Linked DNA regions of Homo sapiens: region 1 is linked to region 2. Evidence: promoter capture Hi-C in human tissues and cell types (Jung and others, 2019). All regions are on one chromosome and are shown on one strand. The core of a region is centred on a gene start or on the middle of the fragment in contact, and the rest is flanking DNA. Distances in the headings are between cores, read along the strand shown. Region 1 overlaps LHFPL4 (LHFPL tetraspan subfamily member 4). Region 2 holds the start of RPUSD3 (RNA pseudouridine synthase D3).

Region 1 (5,530 bases), core at 3,012-5,511, 340 kb after region 2:
TAATAAATATGAAAGGTAGGATGATGGTCATCTGTGGTTATGATGGAAGGGGAGGAAGTCAAGTATATGAGCTGGAGCGTGGAGGTATATGCAAATTATGGGTAGCGTTAGAGTCCTTTTTTTTTTTTTTCCTTGAGACAGTGTCTTGCTCAGTTGCCCAGGGTGGAGTGCAGTGGCACGGTCTCGGCTCACTGCAGCCTCCAGCTCCTGGGTTCAAGTAATCCTCGTGCCTCAGCCTCTTGCTCTTGAGTACCTGGGATTACAGGCATGTTGCCACCACACCCAGCTAACTGTTGTATTCTTAGTAGAGATGGGGTTTCACCATGTTGGCCAGGCTGGTCTCAAACTCCTGGCCTCAAGTGATCTGCCTGCCTCAGCTTCCCAAAGTGTTGGGATTACAGGCATGAGCCAGCACACCCGGCTGAGTTATAGTTATTGAATGGTGAGCTCACCAGTGTTGATTATTGTATTTTTTTAAGAGATTGGGGGAGGGGGCCTCACTCTGCTGCTCAGGCTGGAGTGCAGTGGTGCAATCATAGCTCACTGCAGCCTCAAACTCCTGGGCTTAAGCGATTCTCCTGCCTCAGCCTCCTGAGTGGCTGGGACTACAGGCATGCGCCACCACGCCTGACTAATTTTTGTATTTTTTGTAGAGACGAGGTTTCCCCATGTTGCCCAGGCTGGTCTTGAACTCCTGGCTTCAAGCAATCCTTCCGCCTTGGCCTCCCAAAGTGCTGAGATTACAGGTGTGAGCCACCTTACCTGGCACATTGTATGCTTTATAATTAGTGTATTGCATATAAACTTTCATATATATCAAGTAGCATTAAAATACAATAAAGAAAAAAGGCCAGGTTCAGAGAACTCCAGAGCTCCAGTAATTTGCCCAAAGTCACTTAAGTGGTGAAGGCAGAATCTGAACCCAGGTCCAAGTCCAAAGTCCAAGCTCTTCCCCCCTGTCTCAACCTGGTGAAGCCAGAGATTTCCTGCACGGCTTTGGGAGCTCTCCTGGGATGCTGATCTGCTAACCTGTACTCAGAGGCAGGTTCTAAATACCTGATGCAGTCCCTCAGACCCCGGGATTACTGTGGTTTTGGTGTGAAGTCAAGGCCTGCCCTCTGGCGGCAGCTTTCAGAAGTGCAAGACAGACTGAGATCTGGCCTTTCTCAAGAAGGGGTGTGGGGATGTGACTGATGTGAAGTGGGCCCCCTCGGTGTCCTTCTCCTCCCTTCCCAAAGCCCCCTAACAACTCAGTGTTAAAAATCAATGTAAAGGAGCCCCAGTTTTCCTCCCTTCAGTGTCCAGGGAGTCTCCGTCCCTCACTGGGAGTTCAAGATGAGTGAGCCTCCCACTTCAGTTTTAACCCAAAGACCTCCGAGCCAAAAGCCATGGCGCGCACCTGTGGTCCCAGCTACAGGCTGAGGCAGGAGGATCGCTTGAGCCCACACGTTCAAGACCAGTCTGGGCGATGTAACAAAACCCAGTTTCTATTAAAAAGAAAGAAATATATATATATATTTAAAGAAGACCTCTGGAACCAAAGAAAAAATAGATAAATAAATTGCTTCCATTTCCAGCATATTCTATGACCAAACACTGCCAAGTCCTTGGCTGTCATTATTTGTCTCTTTTTGACCCTTCGGAATTACCCTGTGAGGTAGGCTATGATCCTTATTTTGCAGATGAGAAAATCGGGGCTCAGAGAGGTTAAATGGCTTGCTCAAGGCCATCCTGCTGGTCAGGTGAGGCTAGGATTTCAGCGCTTGTGCAGTCTGCCCCTCTGCCCCTCTGACCTTTTTTTTTTTTTTGAGATGGAGTTTCACACTTTTTGCCTAGGCTGGAGTGCAGTGGTGCAATTTTGGCTCACTGCAATCTCTGCCTCCTGGGTTCAAGCGATTCTCCTGCCTCAGCCTCCCAAGTAGCTGGAATTACAGGCATGCACCACCATGCCCGGCTAATTTTTTGTATTTTTGGTAAAGACAGGGTTGTGCCATGTTGATCAGGCTGGTCTTGAACTCCTGACCTCAAGTGATCCACCCGCCTCAGCCTCCCAAAGTGCTGGGATTACAGGCGTCAGCCACCGCGCCCGGCCCCTCTGCCCACTTGTGCCCTGGGGAATGTGCAAGGAAAGCCTGAATGCCCAGGCAGCCTCTGACTTTCTCTAATTCTCTCTCCTTCTCTCTCTCTCTCTCTCTCTTAGATTTTGTGGGCTCTACAGTAAGCTCCGTGTTGCGGCCCGGGGGTGATGTCTCTGGATGGGGAGTCCTTCCCTGCCCCGTGGCTCACTCACAGGGACCCTGAAAGGCCAGGATCACAGCCCAGTAATTGGCCTGACCTCAGCTTGTCCTGCCTTCTGCCCTCTCGTCACTCCATTCAAGCTCTGAGGGAAGACCCTGATCTCAGACTTACTTCTCACCGACTACCCTGCAAGCTCCAGGCTTTGAGGAGAGGAAAGCCTGGATGTGGCCTGGGGGAGAGGAGAGGCCCTCCAAACCTTGGGAGGGTCTAATTCTTGCTCCTCCCTCAATTTGACCTAAGGGAGCCTGCATCTGCGTAGGCCCTTGGGCTTCTCCTCTCCTCTCTAGACTGGCCTGGAGGTCCCTGCAGATCCCCAGGGAGAGCGGAGCTGTAGTTCCAGCTCCCCAGGCCCCCTCAGTCTGGAGGGCTGCCGCCTGGCTGTATCCGCACCTCTTCTGGTCCCTGCCTCTTCAAGAAATTTATTCTAGATACTGCTCCAGGGTGGGCTGGACTCTTTCCTACTTTTTTTTTTTTTCTTTTTTGGCTGATGTTGGTTCCACCACATCTGCCACAAAGCTCCAGGTGCCACCAGTCTCCCCTGGGACCTCCTCTGCTCCATTCCGGCCTGCTCCCAGCTCACCCTGAGGGAGAGCTGCACCGAGGGATGCACAGGGCCCTGCTGTCAGCTGCAGACCGGGGCCCTGATCAGCCCAGAGTCAGAAAAGACTTTCAGGCTCTGGAGGTAGCGGGAGGGGGTACGTGGCCTCGGCAGTTGGAGCTTAGAAGCTGCTCAGCCCGGGCTGGCCTGGCCTCCTCTTCCTCTCTGCTGGAACATCTCACTGATGACTGAGCCCTTGACCTTGGCCTCTTTTGCCCAGGCCTCCTCTCTGCTGGGATGTCTCACCAATGACTGGACCCTTGACCCTGGCCTGTTTTGTACAGCACAGACTTCTTGGCCCTGTTGTCAGGGTTGGGGGTGTGGAGGGGACCCCAGAGGTGGGGAGTTGGGGGATGCATTACCCCTTCTGCCCCTTTTCATGCCCTCCATACCCCAGGCGTCTACCAAGGGCAGAGACTGTCTTGTCTCTTTGATACTTTTCTGCATAACTTGAACTTGCAGGTCATCTCTGAACAGGGTACCCCTGTCCCCCTTCCTAAGCCTTGTTACCCTGTCCCAGCCTCTTCCTCCTCCTGGCCCACCTCTCGCCTTGCGATATGCCCAGGGTCTGCACCTATGGGCAGTGCTTGGAGCCGAGGCATGAGTGTATGTGTATGTGGGTGAAATGTGTGTGCGTGTGTGTGCGCGTGTGAGCGTGTGTGTGTGTGTGTGTGTTGGGGGACAGGTGAGAAGTTTCTCCCCCCTCCACCCACTGTGGGGGCGTCTCCCTTCCCCTTGGCAGGGAGCAGGTGAGGGAGACTCCTGGTATTTTTTGAACACCCGTCATTCCCCTGTGGGTCTGGCGGCAGAGCCATCTCTCCCGGGGAGCCTCCCTGCCCTGGGGCCTGGACAGCTCCCTCAGCACTAGTTGCTGGTGCAGACCGGCTTCGTCCAGCGCCCCCTCCTGGCGGCCTGGACCTGCAGGGAAGGGGCGGTGCCCTGCAGGATGCCAGGGGAAGCCGCCTCGGGCCTCGGCGGAGGGGAGAGGGTCGCTTGAGCGCCATGTGTTTGCCAACCTTGTGTTCATTTCCACAGGACTTGGACCTGAGAGTTAGGGTTTCCAAGAAAGACCCTAGAAGTCCCCTGCCTGTCTCCCCACTCTGGACCCTAGCCGGAATCAGATGTTGGGACCTAGTGGGTTCCTGCCACCTGGAACTTACCAAGTCCCGACTTCACTCCTCCACTTACTCCTCCCGGGCAAAGCCTCCCCGCAGTGCTCTGGTCCCAGCGCTGGGCTCCCCTTCCCCGCCGGCGCCTTCCCGGACAGTCCAGTCGGCCTGGGGTAGGGGCGCTGCGGGACAGAGGGTCCGAGTTAAATGCGGGAGGATGCGGGAGCCCCGTGGGAGGGAGTTGGGGTAGGAGGGAGTTCCTCAAAGATGCAAACCAAGCCCAGCGTTGGAGGGGGAGAGCAGAGTTAGGAGAGAGTGAGGGGAGGGGCGCAGCAAGCGACTGGGAATGGGAGAAGACACTGGGGTGAGGAGAAGAGGGGTGCAGAGACAGGGAGATGAGAGATGATTGGAGAAGGAGCGAGGGGGACGCACAGGCACAGAGAAACAGCGCGAGGAGGAGAGATCGAGAGAGACGGGGCAGAGGTGGAGAGAGATGAGAGACCAGCTGAGAGGCTGCCCGAGAGCTTGGGGTGGGGGAGGGGAAATGGATGAAAAGGCGGAAAAAGGACTCGGGAGCGGGGAAGAGGTAAATGGAGATGTGGGTTGGGGGCAAGAATGGGATGCAGAGGAAGGAGAGGAGGATGAAGGAGCCAGGATGCGGGGCAGTGGGGAGGGGGTTGCTATCTGGGCACTGGGTGAGGGGAGAGCTTGTTCCCCCAAGGACGCCTGCCACCAGGTGTCCTTGCCACACCTTGTTCCCCAAGGACACCCACCAAACCTGTGCCCTGGTGCGGGGGATAGAACTGACCTTTCAGAGGCTGGAGGCCCGGGGCACAGGCAGCCAAGGCCGCATCCTTTTGGGAAGAACTGGAGTGAAGGAAGCCACTTCAGAGGACGTAGTGGGTCCAGCTGACTTAGGAGTGGGTCAGCGCCGGGTGGAGAGGAGGGAGGCTAGTTCCCTGGTGGGGTAGCCTGGCAACATTCCCATTCCACCGCACCTGGCCAGCTGCCATCTTGGCAGAGCCAGGGGGAGATGCACCAGGGAGTTTGGAGTCAGGAAGGCAGAGTTGTGTGGGCTGAAGTCTGCGGGAACCCCAGGGTGACACAGGCAAGGGGTAGAAGTCAGAGTGGGGACCAAACCATAGACTGGGGCCCTGGGTTCTGCAGAGGTGTGGATGGGGCAGGTGGCAGGTGCTCCAGTGGGGGCCCCAGGTGAGGCCCTGATGGCCCTCCTGGGGCAATAAAGACATCATGGGAAGGGGGCTTTGTGGTTTGCCTCTGCTCTCGTCGGGCGATCTGGCTTTAGCCTTCAGGAGGAGGTAAGCAGAGGAGATCAGTGCCTGTTTCTGACCCCAGGAGGGCCTTGTTGGGCTCCAACCTAGAGCCTTCCGGCTTCAGGTCCCAAGAGAAGTCCCCCCCTAACTGTGACCCCCCTAACTGTGATCAGGGGTCTGCCATTGCCCGCTTTTCTCTGCCTGATCTGGGGACTCAGGAGAGGCCACGGCAGCCACAGCCTAGGGGTGGT
Region 2 (6,176 bases), core at 432-2,931:
TATTTTTATTTTCTTATCTTGAGCCCAGGAGTTTGAGACCAGCCTGGGCAACATCGTGAGACCCCATATCTTTAAAAAAAAAAAAAAAAAAAAAAAAAGCTAGGTATGGTGGTGCACACCTGTAGTCCCAGCTATTCAGGAGACTGAAGTGGGAGGATCGTTTGAGCCTGGGAGGTTGAGGCTGCAGTGAGCTGTGATTGTGCCACTGCACTCCAGCCTGGATGACAGAGCAAGCAAAAAAACACATTAGTGGCCGGGCACAGTGGCTCACGTCTGTAATCCTAGCACTTTGGGAGGCCAAGGCGGGCGGATTGCCTGAGCTCAGGAGTTCGAGACCAGCCTGGGCGACATGGTGAAACCCCGTCACTAAAATACAAAAAATTAGCCGGGTGTGGTGGCGGGCACCGCACCTGTAATTCCAGCTACTCAGGAGGCAAAGGCAGGGGAATCGCTTGAACCCGGGAGGTGGAAGTTGCAGTGAGTCGAGATCGGGCCACTGCACTCTAGCCTGGGTGACAGAGCGAGACTCTGTCTCCAAAAAACAAAAACCAAAACACATTAGGAAAATGTTCACACCAAACTCAAAGTGGAGACTGGGGAGGGAGTGAAAACTGGAAGCACGCAGTAAAGGGGAATTTACTTTTATCCCTTTCATTTCTTAAACAAGAAAAACAGGAAACCTATACATATATATATTGTTTCACAATGACTAATTCTGATGGTAGGAATGTGGGCAGTCATTATATTATTCTTTTTTTTCTGTGTTCTTCTACTTTCTTTTTCTTTTTTCTTTTTTTTTTTTTTTTGAGACGGAGTCTCGCTCGTCGCCCAGGCTGGAGTGCAGTGGCACGATCTCGGCTCACTGCAAACTCCGCCTCCCGGGTTCACGCCATTCTCCTGCCTCAGCCTCCCGAGTAGCTGGGACTACAGGCGCCCGCCACCACGCCCGGCTAATTTTTTTGTATTTTTGGTGGAGACGTGGTTTCACCGTGTTAGCCAGGATGGTCTCGATCTCCTGACTTCGAGGGGCCACAGGACTAGTAGAGCCAAGAGTTGAGGGTCCGGGTGGGGTGATCCGGCCGTCAGAAATGCAAAAGCCTGGAAAGACATCTCCAAAGGCCAATCTCAGGTTGGACAATCGTGAGCTGGGGAAGCTGCAAACACTGTGACCTCCGGAATAACCGCTGGTAATCAGTTACCTCTAACCCTTAGCAGAATTCAGGTCCCTCTACTACTCCTAACCTGGTGGCCTTTCATTAACTCTATGAAGCCAGTTTAGTTCGGGGGAAGGGCAATTATCATTTAGACTACGAACTAATTTCTCCCAAAGTTAGCTTGGCCCAAGCCCAGGAATGACCAAGGACCGTTTAGAGGTTAAAGGCAAGCTGCGGGTTGGTTAGATCAGATCTCTTTCGCTGTCATAATTTTGTAATATAATTTTTGCAAAGGCGGCTTCAGGTTTTTTGCTAAGACAGGTTTTTTGATCAGATCAAATTCTTCTGCTACAGCGCTCTCCCTAAAAGCATAGGAAGGCATTTCTGCATTTCCTTCCTGGGCGGAGGAAAAGCCCCGCCTCCTCAGGCTCTGAGTCCCGCCCGGTCACCATTCCGATTGACACTCCAGCTGACCAATCAGCGCGCTGGCTGGAGCGCGGGTCTGCCCCTCTGGACGCACATGCGCGCTGTCCTGGCTCGGGAGATGGACGGCCGCCGTGTTTTGGGCCGGTTCTGGAGTGGCTGGCGGCGGGGCCTGGGTGTCCGCCCAGTGCCCGAGGACGCAGGCTTTGGCACCGAAGCCCGGTGATTAAGTACCCCCTCTCTCATGCGGGACGGAGGCTAGGGCAGGGGGAAGGCACGTGCGGGATCTGGATCAGGTAGATGTTACCCGAAAACAGCCCCGTTGGCCTCTCTGAGCCTCGGTGCCCTCCGCTGTAGAATGGGACCGGTCGTACCTGAATTTTCGAGGTCAGCCCAGACATTGTGAGGCATTTGTCAGAGGCCGCAGGATTTGGGAAGAGGCGTCCGGAGATAGGAATGGGTGGCACCTCGGGATGGAATGACTCCCATTGCTTCTCCCTCCTTGTCCAGGCATCAGAGGCAACCCCGCGGCTCCTGCCAACGGTCGGGGCCCCTCGGGGACCAGCCCTTCGCGGGGCTGCTGCCAAAAAACCTCAGTCGGGAGGAGCTGGTTGATGCGCTGCGGGCAGCCGTGGTGGACCGGAAAGGTGAGGGGTGAGAGGCACGGCCGCACAAGGACCGGGAGGGGACTGCCTCGGCGTGCAGTTGGGCTCTCCATTGAAGCCACGGGATCAGCCCTGCTTCTGCCTCCCACTAGCAGCATGAGCTGGGACAAGCCACCTAATTTGCACCCTCTCCCCGCTTTTAACCCTACTGCCATGATGCAGTAGGGTTAAGAGTGGGGAGAAGATGCAAATAACTACCGAGCCTTGCACATAGCCGGCGCTCAGTTACGGGAGTTGCTATACTAGATTATTGTTTATTGGCCGCGGTGGCTCACGCCTGTAATCCCGGCACTTTAGGGTGCTGACGCGGGCGGATCACCTGAGGTCAGGAGTTCGAGACTAGCCTGGCCAACATGGTGAAACCCCGTCTCTACTAAAAACACAAAAATTAGCCAGGTGTGGCGGCGTCCGCCTGTAATCCCAGCTACTCGGGAGGCTGAGGCAGGAGAGTCACTTGAACCCGGATAGCAGAGGTTGCAGTGAGCCGACATCGTGCTACTGCGCTCCAGCCTGGGATGACAGAGCAAGACTCAGTCTAAATAAATAAATAAATAAATAATGATTATTTATCGACGGACAAAACACAGGCTTTGGAGTCAGACATACCTAGGCTCTGTGATCAGCTTGCTGTGCGGCTTTAGGAAAATAACTGAATTTCTCTGAACCCCACTCTCTATTCAGTGATTTATTCCTTTTCTCAACTATTTCTTGAACATATGCTATGTTCCAGGCACTGTTCTAGGCAGGCTATACAGTGCTGAAAAAGATAGATATGGTTTCTGCTCTCAGGGGAGAAATGGATTTCTCTCTAACGGGAGAAATGGATGTCAGAAAATAAATGAACAAGTTACTAGTGGTAAGTGCTATGCATAAACTAAAACAGGGTGTTATGATGGTGAGGAACTGCAGGAGGAAGGCAGACATTAGATTGGAGATTCAGACCTCTCCGTGATGTGACATTTGAGCCAAGATGATAGGGAGCCAGACCTGGGAAATTTGGGGACAGGAAACAGCAAGTGCCGAGGCTCTGAGGTGGCAGAGGAACAGAAAGAAGTTGAATTTGGTGTGGGGTAGTTAACTCATGTCTGAGAGTCATGATGGGGACATGTGCTAAGATGCGTGAGAAAGTGCTCTGGAAACTCTTTAGTGCTGCATAAAGGGTTACCGTTGCTTTTGCTGATGTTCGTGTGATGTATGTTTCAGGACCTCTAGTGACGTTGAACAAGCCACAGGGTCTACCAGTGACAGGTATGGGCCGGGGATGTGGGAAGGGAATGCAGCGGAAGGGGGTTTCGTGACTGAGGGAGGGAAAAGTGAAGGCATGAAGCTTTGGCCTCTTGTAATTTTTCTTTCTTACTTTCCAGGAAAACCAGGAGAGCTGACGTTGTTCTCAGTGCTGCCAGAGCTGAGCCAGTCCCTAGGGCTCAGGGAGCAGGAGCTTCAGGTTGTCCGAGCATCTGGGAAGTAAGTGGTAGGGGTGACAGGAAGCTAGGAGTACAGGCATCCATCTGTGGTGGGGAAACAGCTGCTTGGGGATAAGCTGAGACATTTTCCATGGGAAGGTTTGAGATCATAGAGGTGGATACAAGTACTGTGAAGAAGAGGAAGCCGATGGCTCTGGGTTCAAATCCTCAAGTACAAATGGTGTGATACCAGGCAAAGCATGACACCTCCCTGACGCTGGGCACAGTGACTCACACCTGTAATCCCAACACTTCTGGAGGCCAAGGCAAGAGGATCACTTGAGCCCAGGAGTTCGAGACCAGCCTGGGCAAAATAGACCCCATCTCTGGAAAAACAACAACAAAACTTTCCGCGTGGTGGCTCATGCCTATAATCAATAGGACTTTGGGAGGCCGAGGTGGGAGGATTGCTTGAGTCCAGAAGTTCAAGACCAGCCTGGGCAACATGGCAAAACCCTATCTTTACTTAAAAAACAAAATAAAACACACACACACACACACACAAAAACCTAGCTGGGCAGAGCAGCACATGCCTGTAGTGCTCGGGTGGCTGAGATGGGAGAATCACCTGAGCTCAGAAGATGGCAGCTGCAATAAGCTGAGATCCCGCCACTGTACGCAAGCCTAAACAACCTGAATGAGACCCCGTCTCAAAAAAACAAAACAAAACAAATACCCTCCCTGAGCTTCAGTTCCCCTAATGGTAAAATAGAGAAAATAATACCTATGCTCAGTGTGCAGTCATTTCTCCATGACGGTACTCGTGGCAGGCATTGCTAGTCGATCCATGATACTCTTTCCTCTAACTGCCATCAATTAAAGATGGTACTTGAGATGAAATATTTCTGCAGTTCCACAAACTCATGAGCTTTTTTGTAGAGAACTTATTTAAGAGCTAATATGTACAGAATTTCTAGTAGAATTCTGGCACATGGTAGACAATCGTTACGACATTTGGCTCTGAGTTCCCTGGGGGCCGGGGCAAAATGAGAAACACATTAAGCTACATAGTCTTGTTATCAAAGAAGGGGAAACCTTACTTGTTTCTCAGGAGTTGGTCTAGGTTATAGTCCTGGTGTTAGTGTTTGGCCTGAAGCAGGTCAGTGTTCCTAAGAGTTTCCTTTTTAGTGGGCGAGTTCAAGGGACTTTAACTTGTGTGATTTGTCTGCTTATTCCAGAGAAAGCTCTGGGCTTGTACTCCTCTCCAGCTGTCCCCAGACAGCTAGTCGCCTCCAGAAGTACTTCACCCATGCACGGAGAGCCCAAAGGCCCACAGCCACCTACTGGTGAGAGGTGCTGGGAGGTTCCTAGAGTGGTGGGGAGGTCCCAGCAAGCCACCCTGTGACCTCCTCCTGCCCCTTTCTCAGTGCTGTCACTGATGGGATCCCAGCTGCTTCTGAGGGGAAGATCCAGGCTGCCCTGAAACTGGAACACATTGATGGGGTCAATCTCGTGAGTCCGGGTCTGGGAAGAGGAGGGGTGCTTCTAGATATAGTACCCCTACAGAGAGGAGTCAGGGGTATGGATTTGGGATGGCTGGCTCTCCTGTCCCCTAAAACAGGCAAGTGACCACTGCCTATACTGTGGCCCTGCCCGGAGTCTATTGGGAGCAGGGAGGGTCTGGGTATAGCTCCCAGACCTGTGTAAGGCTTGTTCACTCTTGGCTGGCACCACAGACAGTTCCAGTGAAGGCCCCATCCCGAAAGGACATCCTGGAAGGTGTCAAGAAGACTCTCAGTCACTTTCGTGTGGTAGCCACAGGCTCTGGCTGTGCCCTGGTCCAGCTGCAGCCACTGACAGGTAGGTCTGGCACCCTAGCCAGCCTTTAAAACTGCACTTGATTTGGGAGGCTGAGGCAGGTGGATCACGAGGTCAGGAGTTCAAGACCAGTCTGGCCAAGATGGTGAAACCCTGTTTCAACTAAAAACTACAAAAATTAGCTGGGCACGGTGGCAGGCGCCTGTAAAACCAGCTACTCGGGAGGCTGAGGCAGGAGAATCGCTTGAACCTGGGAGGCAGAAGTTGCAATGAGCCAAGATCATGCCACTGCACTCCAGTCTAGGTGATAGAGGAGACTTCATCTAAAAAAAAAAAAAACTGCACTTGAGCCAGGCGCGGTGGCTCACGCCTGTAATCCCAGCACTTTGGGAGGCCAAGGCGGATGGATCACTTGAGGTCAGGAGTTCGAAACCAGCCAGGCTAACATGGTGAAACCCTGTCTCTACTAAAAATACAAAAATTAGCTGGAGTTGGTGGCACGCACCTGTAATCCTAGCTACTTGGGAGGCTGAGGCGGGAGAATCGCTTGAACCTGGGAGACAGAGGTTGCAGTGAGCGAAGATCACACCATTGCACTCCAGCCTGGGAGACAGAGTGAAACGCTGGCTAAAAAAAAAAAAAACTGCACTTGGCTTAGGGAGGCAAGGAGCTGGGGAGACAGTGGTATCAGCAGCAGCCTGGGGAGCATTTGA

What was found. Contacts are between HindIII fragments. The study calls those that stand out against the background at their distance.
Region 1: a contact is called between a fragment that was not itself captured here and the fragment with the promoter of RPUSD3 in region 2, in 2 of the 25 tissues and cell types used here (adrenal gland and heart left ventricle).

The regions. Positions count from the first base shown.
Region 1 is chr3:9,498,982-9,504,511 of GRCh38, reverse strand. It overlaps LHFPL4 (LHFPL tetraspan subfamily member 4), which reads left to right. Exons shown (of 4, transcript NM_198560.3): 4 at 2,201-5,530. The coding sequence ends at 2,301. Among named protein-coding and RNA genes, the nearest start is that of LHFPL4, 52 kb to the left of the region's middle. RefSeq lists a silencer at 973-1,267 and an enhancer at 2,461-3,186. The HindIII fragment of the contact is 7,926 bases long and covers 299-5,530 here.
Region 2 is chr3:9,839,513-9,845,688 of GRCh38, reverse strand. RPUSD3 (RNA pseudouridine synthase D3) reads left to right here and starts at 1,681. Exons shown (of 9, transcript NM_173659.5): 1 at 1,681-1,799; 2 at 2,088-2,224; 3 at 3,446-3,490; 4 at 3,607-3,706; 5 at 4,884-4,991; 6 at 5,073-5,157; 7 at 5,382-5,505. The coding sequence starts at 1,699. RefSeq lists an enhancer at 1,739-1,818. The HindIII fragment of the contact is 13,991 bases long and covers 1-6,176 here.